Regions from separate parts of the Homo sapiens genome. Here region 1 is linked to region 2. The links are contacts of gene promoters, found by promoter capture Hi-C in human tissues and cell types (Jung and others, 2019). All regions are on one chromosome and are shown on one strand. Each heading gives the region's core, a stretch centred on a gene start or on the middle of the fragment in contact. The rest is flanking DNA. Distances are from core to core; before and after follow the strand shown.

Region 1 (6,104 bases), core at 3,031-5,530, 110 kb before region 2:
GTAGGAAGTCTGTGATTGGGCAACCCTGCTTCTCATGAGGTGCTCAGTCCCGCTCACTGCCCTCCTCTCAGCTCTCCCACCACCCAAGGCCCAGGAGCCCCTCCCCAGATCATGCCTTCTGGCCCTGCCCTTTGTGCTGAGGCACCACAAGGCACAACATGGTGCCTTGGAAAAGCCAGTTGGTGGTGCTGAGGGCATTAATGAGGATAGGGGTGCCTGCTGGGGTTCCCTGGGCAGGAGAAGGGAAGCTTCTCCTCACAGATTGTAGAACAGGAGGAGGCAGATGGGGAGTTAGACATATACTGGGAAGAGCTAGTCCTGGCTCATTGGCCCTTCAGTCAAATTCCCCTGAGCTGGGCTTCCAGCTCCACCTTCACTAGTTCAGGTTGAATTCCCTGGAAGAGCACAGGTGGCAGGCGACTCTTGTCCCTAACCCCTGCTTCCCCTGTAGTAGCTTCTTCAGCCTCCAGAACCAGAGCAGGTGGAGATCTCAAAGAAGGTGGCACCCCAAGGAAGTAGAACCCCAAAGACCCCAAACCCTGAGCACATGCCCTTCCTGCTGGGGTTGGGGAACTTGCTATGTATTACTCTGTTTTTCTTCTCCTGCCCACAAAATTCCTTTGCATAGATGGTAAAACTGAGGCAAAACGTGGGAGGACTTAGACTGCCCACCCACTTCTTTCTAGAGCCCAGCCTGGGACCAAGGGGCTTGGCATCCCGCAGCCCCTCCCGCTCCACTCCTACCAGTCCCCGTGGCTTTTTCCATTTGGAAAGTCCTTTCTGGCGAGTGGCAGGTTTGGAGGCCCTAGTCTAGTCTCCTCCCCTGTCTCCTGGGCAGTGCCCCCAGGGGAGCCCCTGTGGGCCAAGATCTCCTTAGTCTCAGTCCTGGGCCCCCCTCACCCTCTACCAGCAGTCCCCCAGCTCCCGCCCCTCGGCTGTGGGACAGGGAGAGGGCTGAGGGGCTGGCTCTGCATACTAATGTCCTGCCCATTGTCAAAGCCCCTTTGTGCCAGGGAGCTCCATTGAGGCGGCTCCGGGGCAGGCACAATGGGGGCTCTGTCCCCTAGTTCCCCCAAACAGTCACCTGCTTTCAGAGCCTTCCCCACCACCCCCCCTTCGCCCCAGTGTCCGGAGGGCCCAGAGAGCACGGGGGAGTGGGCCCTGGGCCAGGGGGGATGGGCAGGAGGTGACTCCCCCACTCTCTGGGCAGGCTGGGGAGATGGGCATTTGACAGGGCAGGCTGCAGAGGGCACACAGAGGGGAGAGGCCCTAGGCTCACAGGGGCAGGGGCAGTCTGTGGAGGAGTTGGAATGCAGGTTCTCTGAGGCCTGAGAAGGGGAAGGGGCACTCAGAGCCTGCCCACTTCTCGGTTCCGTATGCCCAGCCTGGACCTGTGGCTGCCACCTCTCCTCCTCCCACTACAGGACTCCCCGGGGCTCATATATGCAGAGACACACAGGCATACACTCATCTATGCGGCCCCACACACGGCTCCCAACACACACCCAAACGGATGTGCCCAGACACAACACACTGACCCCAGCACACAGATCGCACGTCCACAACACCACCTCCTGGCATATGCACCTGCACACCCACCCTCCCTCCACCCCACCCCCCTTTCCCTTTTGCACCCCCTCCACGGCCGCAGGCATCTCAGCACCATGTCCCTCCCCCCCATGCCCTTGCTGCCCTCTGCTGCTCTGACACTGGTTATAACAAGTTTGCACTTGTTGTGACCTTAAGAATGTGGCCCTGGGGCTAAGAATGTCCCGCTGCCCCAGACTGCACCTGCTTATACGTTAACCATGGACACAGCCTCTTGCTGCACTCTAAGCAATGCTCCCATTCCTGCCTCAACCATGGAAGCAGTTAGGTGGGCCAGGCCCCCCACCCCAGAGCTGAGTCAAGTACCCTGGACTGAGCTCTATGTGAATAACTAAAGCCCCACCTGGCCTCGCTGGCACAGGTCCAGTGTGTCCGTCTTTGCATTTGCCCAGGGCACATAGATATTTCCTAGCCCTTCCTGGCCCTGGGAGGTAGATGGAACAGTTATCATTTTCCCAGCAAGGCTCTGAGAGGTAAGATGATGGTGTCCAGGCAGCTGGTGGCAAGTCTGGGACTAGAATGGAGGTCTCTCACCGCTAGTTTTTTTGTGTTTTTCCCCCAACTATTTGTCTCTTGGTTTCACTCAGATGACCCCACCCCCAACCCTATCTACAATTCCAACAGAGCTGTCTTTTAGCCACCTTTTTTTGGGAAGGAGTGGGGGCATGGTGAGGGGAAGGGGTGGGGAGAAGAACGGGTCTAGGAGCCTTAAGTGGGCTTCTGGGTCTAGAAAGAACCTCCGAAGGTCACTTTGACCCTTGCACTACCCCTAGGCAGAGTGAGCCTACCTCCTTTCACTTCCCACCCTCCTACCGGCCCCACTCCTGCTACGAACTCTGGATCACTGGAAAGTAACCCCACAGCCTTCTTAGCTAGGGTTTGGAGTTGGGGATCTCTATCAATTATAAGTCCTTCATGCTGCCTAGTACTGGCCTTTCCAGTTATTATCCTACGTCTGCACGAGGATCTGTAGGCTGTATCTACGGCTCACCTGCTATTCTGGTCCAGAGCATCTTCTAGCAGTTGGGAGCAGATGCCCTAAAAAGGGAAGAGAGGAAGGCCCATTGGGATCCCAGAGACTTGAGGGCTGACTGCACAGTGGTGTGCTGGGGCCTGGGAGGGTGGATGGGGTCACAGTTGCAGAAACTCTGTTAGATAGAGAACTAAGCTGATATTGGTTTGCTCATCAGCAAATATTATTGAGTGCTAATCTCCATGATGTTTCCTCCCATCAAAATTGCATGGGAGAACCTCAGGGCCCTTCTACTCCTTCTCCTTTCCCCTCATCTAAAATGCTTCCCCTCTGGCTACTGGATTCTCCTTAAGCCGCCTCATCCATCTGTCTTCCTTCATGCAGGAACACACCTCCCCCAGCCCTTATACTCTGGTGTGATTCTTTTGCTCCAAATGTTCCCTACTGGAGAAAGAGAACTGCTCAATGTATGTAACTTCAGCTTTCCCTGCTGTGCTCGGGCAGTTAGTTACTATAGGAGACAGAGGACAGTGAGACACTCACCTCTGAATCTAGTTCTGTATCTAGTAAGTGTCCTCATGCCATCCCTACCCCATCCTCCTTCTTAAGGGAGGAATGTGGATAAGGAATAAGTAAAAAGTTGAGAGGGGGCAGAGAGATTGCCTCCCAGAGTCATGGTGAGCTCCCTAGACTCCTCTGAGTGAGGGTCAGAGGCTGCTCTTCATGCAGGGAACAGGAGCCCCAAGAAGGAAAGGGAGCTGAGAGGACACCTGTCAGGGAAACAGGCTCAATTTTCTGAATATGAATGACAGGTACAGAGTACCTCTGTGTCTCCAGCTCCATTAAGGGTACAAATAGGAAGAAATTGCTCAGATAGCAACAGGTAAATTTTGACTTAACTGGAAGAATTCCCTGGGCATAAGGGGAGGGACAGAAAGAGGTGGAGAACTCATTGCCTTGATGAGAAGGAAAAGTCCCCCTTTAGTCACCTACTGAACAAAGCTTGAGTGGCCTGGAAGATAGTTCCAATGACTCTCAGAGCCCCTGTGGGGTTTCCAGCGGCCTCAAAGGAATCCCTTGATCATTTCCACAGACCCCAGTAAGAGCATTGCTGAATGTCTCCTCCTCGTGGACCTCACTATTTGCTGCTTATTCTAACTCTTCTTGTTGGGCCAGCTTCTGCAGGGGTGAGGGAGACCCTGAGACCTACTAGGTGGGAGGCCCAGATTGAAGATAATGGGCTGTGGCTGTGGCTGTGGTTGGCTGGGGAAGAGTTTCTGTGGATAATGCTCCAAGGTTGGCTCCACAGAAACTGGCACTTTTGGACCCCAGGGTGAGGAAAAGGATCTTGTAGGAAGAGATAAGTTGAGATGAAGAAGAAGACCAGGGTTGTTGCTCTGATTCTGATGTAAAATAACATGAGCTACCAGCTAGCAGTGTGATCTTGGGAAAGTTACCCCCCTCTTCTAGGCCTTGGCTTCCTCTTTAGTAAAATGTGGGTATTAAACGTGATGACCATAGAGGACTTCCCAGCATGAATACTCTGTGACACAGTCCAGTAGCAAGTTGAGAAGCCCAGACTTTAAGCAGATTTAAGCAGGCCTGGGTTCAACTTGCAGTGCACCCCTTACGAGCAGTCCTCCTGGGCAAGTTAGTTAACCCATGTAAGTCTAGTTTCCACCCGTTCATCTGAGGGCAATGCTATTGCCCCCCTAGGGAGGCTAGGATGAAGCACGGCATGGAGCGTCCAGCACAATGCCTGGCGCACCGTAAAGCCTGAGGTAGGAAGTTCATGGTACTGTGGGAACACAGGGGGATAGCAGCCCATGTTGTGGGTGGGGGCATCCAGAAAGGCTTTCCAGAGAAAGTGACATCTAAGCTGAAGCCTGAAGGAGGAGTAGAAATTAAGCAAAGTGGGAAAGGAAGAGTGTTCCATGGAAGAGACCCCATTATTTGCTAAGAAAAGCTTGGTCTGTTCAAGAACCGAGAGGTTTTGTGTGGCTGGGGACATGATGCATGCGTGAAGTGGGTGGGTACAGATAGAGAACACTGATGCTAGGGAGGTCAGCAGAGACCAGGTCATAAAGGACTCTGTTCCACCAGTAATTCTAGGGACTTCAGAGATAGGGTCCCTCCACTTCCTCTCCTCTTCTTCCTACTTTTCATTCATCCTTTCTCCCAAGACTAATTTCTCTTGTCCTTGGTCACACGAGCACAAGGAAGCATTGGGCTCCCCTAGGACGACCTGGCCAGTGCAGGAAGAAGCTTTAAGTTCAGAGTTGTCTGCCTCTGGACAAGTTTTGGCTTAGGCCTGAAGTTTTCTGCCTCTGTCCTTTCTCACCACTAGAGAGAGATGTGCCTTCCACAGAAGACCCTGGATTTTATCACTGAGGCACTCCTACTAAGCACTCCCACAGTGGGCCTCAGTTTCCCCATCTGCCCCTCTCATTGTAGAGAGTAGGGAGAGTGTTGACAGGGTGGGGCTGAGCACAGCCTGCAGAGAAGAGCTAGGGAAACTGACTCAGTGCCCCCAAGTGTCCAAACGTTGAAACTTCAATGGGAAGCTCAGAGGAAGGACTTCCGAAGGATGAAGTGGGTGGCACATGGAAAAGGGGGCCTGAAGGAGGAAAAGTGATGTAGAACATCAATCCTACAGGCTCTTTAAAGTCAAGAAATGCCAGGCACTGAGAAGGACACAAAGATGAACAAAATACAGATTAAGAAGCAGTCCAGAAAAGGTTCTCTGTTTGGGAAGATGGGGATGGTCCTTCCTGGAAGGCACAGAGCTGATGAAACAGCCTCTACAGGAGTTGGCCCTGGGGGTGCTCTCACAATGGGGAGTAGCTCTTCTGCCTCCCCTACCCGCCACTACCTCTTGGGCCCTCCACCCCCTAGGTCCAAGCCTCCCCTCATTTCCAGCCAACACCACTTCAAGTTCAAAGACAGGAAAGTGTACAGAGAAGGGCCCTTCAGCTGGGATCTGGTCAGCCTCCCCCGCCCTTCTCTCAGGTGGAGAACCCTGTCTTGGCCCTGGGACTCCAAGGAATAGGTCTCATCATACCCTCCCTAGTTTCTCAAACTCTTCTGGTAGATCAGGTGACAACTCATTAGCCTTCAGCCCAAGAACATTATCTCCAGGGCCCTGGCCATCCTAGGCCTTGAGAAGGCTGCCAGCTGCCTGATACTCCTGAGGCTGGGGGCAGACAAGAGGGCGAGAGGCTGAGGGATAGTAATTAAGGAACTTGGCTCTACTCAGCAGTCTTCAGCACACACTTGCCCACCTCTTGGCAGGCTGAGAGGGTTTTGGAGGAATTATAGAGAGGTGGGATAAAGAATAGTGGGTTGGAAGTCCCCTTCAATTCTGGGGCTAGAGTAAATCTTACCCCACAACTCACCTGGAGAAAGGAGATCGAAGGGATGGTGTAACTTGAGCATCATCAAGGCCACTGGGGTGTGGAGAGGCAACGTGAGGGAAAAGCCCACAGGATTTGGAGACATGGGGTCTGGCTTTGCCATTAAATAA
Region 2 (5,795 bases), core at 2,339-4,838:
GTGCTAAGACACTGGTATGTGAAAGAGCACAGTAGTTCTAAGGCCTGCAAAGTCATGCACACTGCGATAAAGGGATAAGTGAGAAACCAGGCTGGAAAAGTAAGCAGGGCCTTTCTGAAGCAGGAATTCAAAGACAAACAGGACAATATCCACACCCTTGTGGGGCTAAGTGTTTCATTGGGATAGAAGATAGGCACACAAAAAGTTAAATGACAATATATGAGAAACCGCACTTCTTTACGGATCTGGTAATAAGACTGCTGCTTACAGGCATGTGGTCAACAGAGTCCCTGGATGACAATCTTTTCTTTTCTTTTTTAACTCAGATATAACTTAATATATGCCTGATTAACAACATCCCTATTATCGATTATTAAAGCCACCCTTTCTATTCTAGAATATGGGATAGTTATGTGGTGCTTAATTGGTACAAGCAATGTTAACACATCAAATGTGGTCACTACTAAAAGCCCATGTGTTCCACCTTTCAGGGTTCATTTGATATCAAGTAATTCTCTGCTTATCTATAGACAATGAGAAACTTTGCTGATTAGGAACACCTGTGCTTAACGATGCCAAGCAGACATCTCTGAGGTCACACCATCTTCTTTGTGCAGGGCTATGGAGCAGCTCAGGTCCTTTCTTCCCAAGGCCTGCTGAAATATTAGGTATACACCAGGAAGACAGAACCAATAAGATAGATAGATACAGATATAGAAATATGAGATGGGATTTATTAGGGGAATTGGCTTACATGATGGTGGAGGCCAAGTCCTACAACATGCACAAAGAAGGCCCTGGGATGGCAAAAGTGTGGCTCAGTCCAACTCCAAAAGCCTCACAACCAGGGAGGCCAATGGTATAACTCACAGTCCCAAGTCTGGAGAGCCTGGAGTTTTGATGTTCAAAGGCAAGAGGAGGAGAATACCCCAGCTCTGAGAGACAGAGAGAGAGACAGAGAGAGAAAAGAAGAAGAAGGAGAAGGAGGAGGAGGAGGAGGAGGAGGAGGAGGAAAAGCAGCAGCAGAGGAGGAGGAGGAGAAGGAGGAGGAGGAGGAAAGAGGAAAGAAGAAAGCAGGAGAAGGAGAAGAAGGAGGAAGAAGAGGAGGAGGAGGAGGAGGGGGAGAGAGAGAATATTTTCTGATATCCTTGTCAGCAATTTGAAAATATGGGGGCTGCCTGATACTTAGGTTAGGTGGAATCCTCGTTGGTTGAATAAGCTTTCCCAGAGAGTAATGACTATGAATCAAGGACAACCTAGAGGAAAGTCTTTTGTTTTGAACCTCAGGGACTATTTTTTAAATCAGCTTTCACTCCTGGCACAGTGAGGGAACAAGTTATAGGGCTAGGTTCCTTTTCTTAACAAAAAATCTCCAATATACATATAAATCAGACAAAAAATGGCAATAACAATAAAAGTCACAAAATAAGTTTCCAGAAAAAAAAGGCCATATCATAAACTTTTAAAAATTGAAAACCATTTTAAATGTCATTTAACAGAAAGTTATTTTAATGTCTAAATGAGATTAGTTTATCCTCAAGAAACCACTGGAGACAGCAGTTTAGATCAAAGGTGTGGCCAATTCTAACAGCGGGGAGGGAGATCCTTCCCAATGATTGGTAAAGATCCAAAGACTAAAAAACACTTGGCTCGGCCGGGGGCAGTGGCTCACACCTGTAATCCCAGCATTTTGGGAGGCCGAGGTGGGTGGATCATGAGGTCAGGAGTTCAAGACCAGCCTGGTCAAGATGGTGAAACCCCATCTCTACTAAAAATACAAAAATTAGCCAGGCATGGTGGTGGCCGCCTGTAATCACAGCTGCTTGGGAGGCTGAAGCAGGAGAATCGCTTGAACCCGGGAGGTGGAGGTTGCAGTGAGCCGAGATTGCACCACTGCACTCCAGCCTGGGCGATAGAGTGAGACTCTGTCAAAACAAAAAAACAAACAAACAAAAAACCCGCTTCACTCTTTTACCATTTCTTCTAGCCTTGCTTCCATGCTGCATTCATTAACATGTTTCCATTATAGTCTTATCAATAGATCAGGGTATTATGTTGAAATGCATTGTTGAAAAGCTGCTACTTTGGGACTATTTGCAGGAGGGATGGTGGGAGAGACTGGCCCACTGCTCCTGCCTCTTCCCTTCCATCTCAGTCACCCAAAAGCACTAAAACCTTTACACCTGGAAGAACTGTCCAGCAGGCAGAGCTTACTAAGGATGGAATGGGTACAACAGTAGTGCTGAGCTTCCTGGCCCAGGATGTAATGAGATAGGGGCTTGGATGACTACATGGAGAAATGATGTGCCAGGGATTCTGGGGCCAAGTAGTGCTTAGGCCCATCCTGGAGGTTCTCTCATGATGCTGCAGCAGTGATTCTGTGAGTCTGATGCCTGGTGCACTCAGTTTGAGTCTTAGTACTTCGGATTGGGATGAGATCAGCACGTTGCTTTCATGGAAGGCTTCCAAGGGAGCCAACTGAATGGGAAGGACCTGGACAGGCAATGTTGCTTAAGCCGACCCAGCATCCCTACAGCATCACCAGGCTGAGGAGGTGGAATCTCTGAGGGGCAAGATATGCAAGATATCTTTGTGTCTGAGGGCGAAGCCTCCAAGGGAGTAGGTTTGATGAAGTTTGGGTTGGGTCTCAATCCAGCTCTGCCATAACCTAGTTGGGAAAGCTTGGGCCAAGTTACTTCATCTCCCTGAGCCTCAGTTTTCTCATTAGTCAAAGGGAGCTCTACTTACTTCGCAGGGTTTCTGTGAAGGTTACACAAGAGTTATAAAGCATCTAGTCCAGGGTCTGGCACCCTGCATGGGTCCAGTAAGTGATCTTGTATTTCATTCCTCCCTTTCAATCTCCCGTGTCAGGATATCTGTCGTTTCTCCCCTCTGGGCCTGTTTCTCTGGGTCGTTGGTGCCAGAGCTGCCTTGGGAGCTGACTTGGCAACCCCACGCTCAGAGCACAGCCTTCCTCAGCTGCACACGGTGGGAGGCGCCTGGGCAAGATTTGGGAGCTCGCCAATGCAGACAGGTATTTCCAGTCCTGCTAGAGAAGCAATGGGTGGAGGTAGAAATGGGGATGGGGGAGGAGATCGGATGAGCCCGGGACCTGGGTGGATCCCCTGGGAGGAGGGCGGGGAGTCATGCTCCCCGCCTGGTTCTCCTACCCCCAGGCTCAGATTTCAACCCTCGCTGCCGCCTCTGTGGCGCGCCCGTTCGGGGAGCGGAGAGGGTCGCCCGTAGGTTCCGAAAGAAGGACGGCGTACCAGTAGCCTGGCAAGGGGCCAGCTCCCGCAGCCCTGGAGCGCGAGCCGGACCCTGCTGCCCCTCTTGCTGGCGGCGGGAAGCGGCCCACCGGCCTTTCCACGCTTGGCTGTGCAGAGGTCCACGAGGGGGCGACCTGAGCCCACGTGCAGCCGAGCTCTTCCCTCCTGAAACTACAACTCCCAGGCCGCTCAGGGGTCCCGCCCGCCTCGCCGTGCCTCTGGCGGCTCCAATTGGCCGCCGCGGGAGGGGGATTGGCGGTCTCCAGGGCGACGGGAGGCGCTCGGGGCATCCGAGGCGGGGAGGCGGGTCCGCCCCCTATTGTGTAGCGGCGAGAGTGGAGCCGAGCGGTGCGGAGCAGGTGAGGGAGGGGGCGTACTGGAGGTATAGAAGTGGTGGTGCTGGTAGTGCGGAGTTATGGGGGACAGGAGAAAGCGGGGAGTTCTAGAGAGAAGTGGAATTCGTTGCAGGAGTAGAACTAGGGGAGTTCTGGGGAGTGAAGTGGAATTCTTGGCGGGTGGGTGGGAGTTCCCGGAGAACTGCAGGAGTTCTGGAGGCAATGTGGGGGAGTTCTTGGTGGGTTCTAAGAGAAAGGAGGAGTTCCAGGGGACCAGAGAATGCGAGGGAGAAAGGAATTGTTGGGGGTGGGGTATCAGAATTGTATTGTGGGCTGATGCAGGAGAATCCCAGGGAGGGGAATTATCGGGAGGAGAGGATGGGGAGAAGTGGCTGGGGGGTGGGGAGACCAGAAGGGAGTTCTTTATAGTGCAGGAGACCTGCTGCAATTGGAGATCAGGTGCGAGAAGCTGGAATTGTGGGGGGATTGTGCGTAGTAGCGATAACTGGGAAGGGAGTAATGGGAGGACGAGGGAGTGGTGTGTGGGGAGACTAGAAGGGTGAGGAAATAGTGGAGGCCGGGGGAGTTGGAAAGATATTAAGAGACTGGGAGGAATTCTAGGGATGCCTAGTTACTCAGAGTCTCGGAAAACAACCAGGAGAGAACTAGGGGGTTCCTATATACTTGGAAAAAGGTTTTTCAGGGAAGTGTGGGAGAGCTGCCTGGAGGCAGTGGGAAACAGGGGGCTTGGTTGCTAGTGAATTGCCAGAAGTTAGACATACAGGATCATTAAGTAGAGGCAAGGATCAGACTCTGTGGAGGATGTTTTATAGTCTGTCCTGAACTTTGCGGCCAAGAGTGGGTTGGAGGACTCAGAGCAGAGTCCACTTGGCAGTGCCAGGCCCTGGCATGGACCCTCTGGCTCTCTGAGACTGCCCTAGGATCTGTGGGGCTGTCAGAAGCTCCTACCCTCCATGCCCCAGGGTTAATTTTGTACACTTCAGGGACTCACAGGCTTTTTTTTGGACCATGCCTCTGGGGTTGGGGAAGAAAGAGCTTGACAAACCCTGGCACCCCGAAGATATTGGAGGGGAGTGAGTGGGAGGGATTTGGGTGAGGTCCTTGGGTGGTGGTGCCTGGCAGGGGGAGGGCTGCTTGGCAGTATCGTGAGGAAGTGGCGCCAGCTGCCAGCCCCGGGACCTGTCCAGACCTGGAGGATGCTGCCTGGATCCCCCATACTGGCAGGTGGGGGAGGCAGCTCCTCCTCTCCCAAGTGCCTGACTCACTCACTGCCAAAGCAGTGTAGGGAGACTGAATGGAGAAAGGCCTCGGGTCCTCAGCTTCCAGAGTTTTTCATAGAGGCTGGGGAAATGGGACAAGGGATTGTATCGGGGTGTCCTGGGGACCACTTTCTGAGGCTTAAGCGCCCTGGATTTGCCCTTGACTGGCTCTCTGCCCCTGAGCAGATATCCTCAGGGCCCTTATTTGTCACAGAGGGGTGAAGGCGACAGCACTGGTTCCATCTTGCTGCTATACCTTGTGAGCATCAAGAGTAAGGAAAGAAGCGAGAGCAGCCTAGGCCATGAGAGTCTTGATCTACCATACTTCCTTCAAAAATATTTTTCCAAGCATATGAGGAACCCCAGTTCTCTTCTGGCTTAGTTTTTCAAGACCCTCAGAATGCAGGCATCCCCAGAATCCTTCCACATTTCCTAAGACCTTCCCAACTCTCCCAGCCTCCCCCATTTCCTCACCTTTCTAGTATCTGCATTCAGCACTCACCATTCTCCCAGTACTCCTACCCCTGCTCTTACTCCCCAGGGCTTCAAGATCCCCCCCTTCCCCCTACCCCTCACTTAACTACACTCCTCCCTCCTTTCTCTTCCCAGTGCCTTTCTCTAATGGTGGGGTTTCTTCTGGGCTCCAGTATTGGCCAACTCTGCATGTTGCCTTGTACTTTTCATTTAGATCTGGTGGTTCTCCGGAGAGCAGCTTCCTCGGGTGTTACATGAGCCAAGCCCTCACTGTACAGAAGAGTGAGAGCTGAAACCTGTTCCCTGAGCTGATCAGAAGGACATCCCTTGGCCCCTCCATCTGGGCTCCTGTGGATAGGAGGGGCTGGGTGAGCAGGCCAGCTGGGCTATGGTGTGGTGCCTCGGCCTGGCCGTCCTCAGCCTGGTCATCAGCCAGG

What was found. The method cuts DNA at HindIII sites, captures the fragments that hold promoters and counts their contacts. A contact is called where the count stands out against the background at its distance.
Region 1: a contact is called between a fragment that was not itself captured here and the fragment with the promoter of IGSF9 in region 2, in 3 of the 25 tissues and cell types used here (hippocampus, mesendoderm cells and neural progenitor cells).

What each region holds. Positions count from the first base shown.
Region 1 is chr1:160,057,271-160,063,374 of GRCh38, reverse strand. The region is part of intron 1 of KCNJ10 (potassium inwardly rectifying channel subfamily J member 10); the gene reads left to right. Among named protein-coding and RNA genes, the nearest start is that of KCNJ10, 9.8 kb to the left of the region's middle. The HindIII fragment of the contact is 4,727 bases long and covers 1,917-6,104 here.
Region 2 is chr1:159,943,406-159,949,200 of GRCh38, reverse strand. IGSF9 (immunoglobulin superfamily member 9) reads left to right here and starts at 3,588. Exons shown (of 21, transcript NM_001135050.2): 1 at 3,588-3,628; 2 at 5,573-5,795. The coding sequence starts at 5,747. It overlaps LOC124904438 (a long non-coding RNA gene), which reads right to left. Exons shown (of 3, transcript XR_007066684.1): 2 at 2,749-3,049. RefSeq lists an enhancer at 2,965-3,465 and a silencer at 3,308-3,602. The HindIII fragment of the contact is 11,911 bases long and covers 1,951-5,795 here.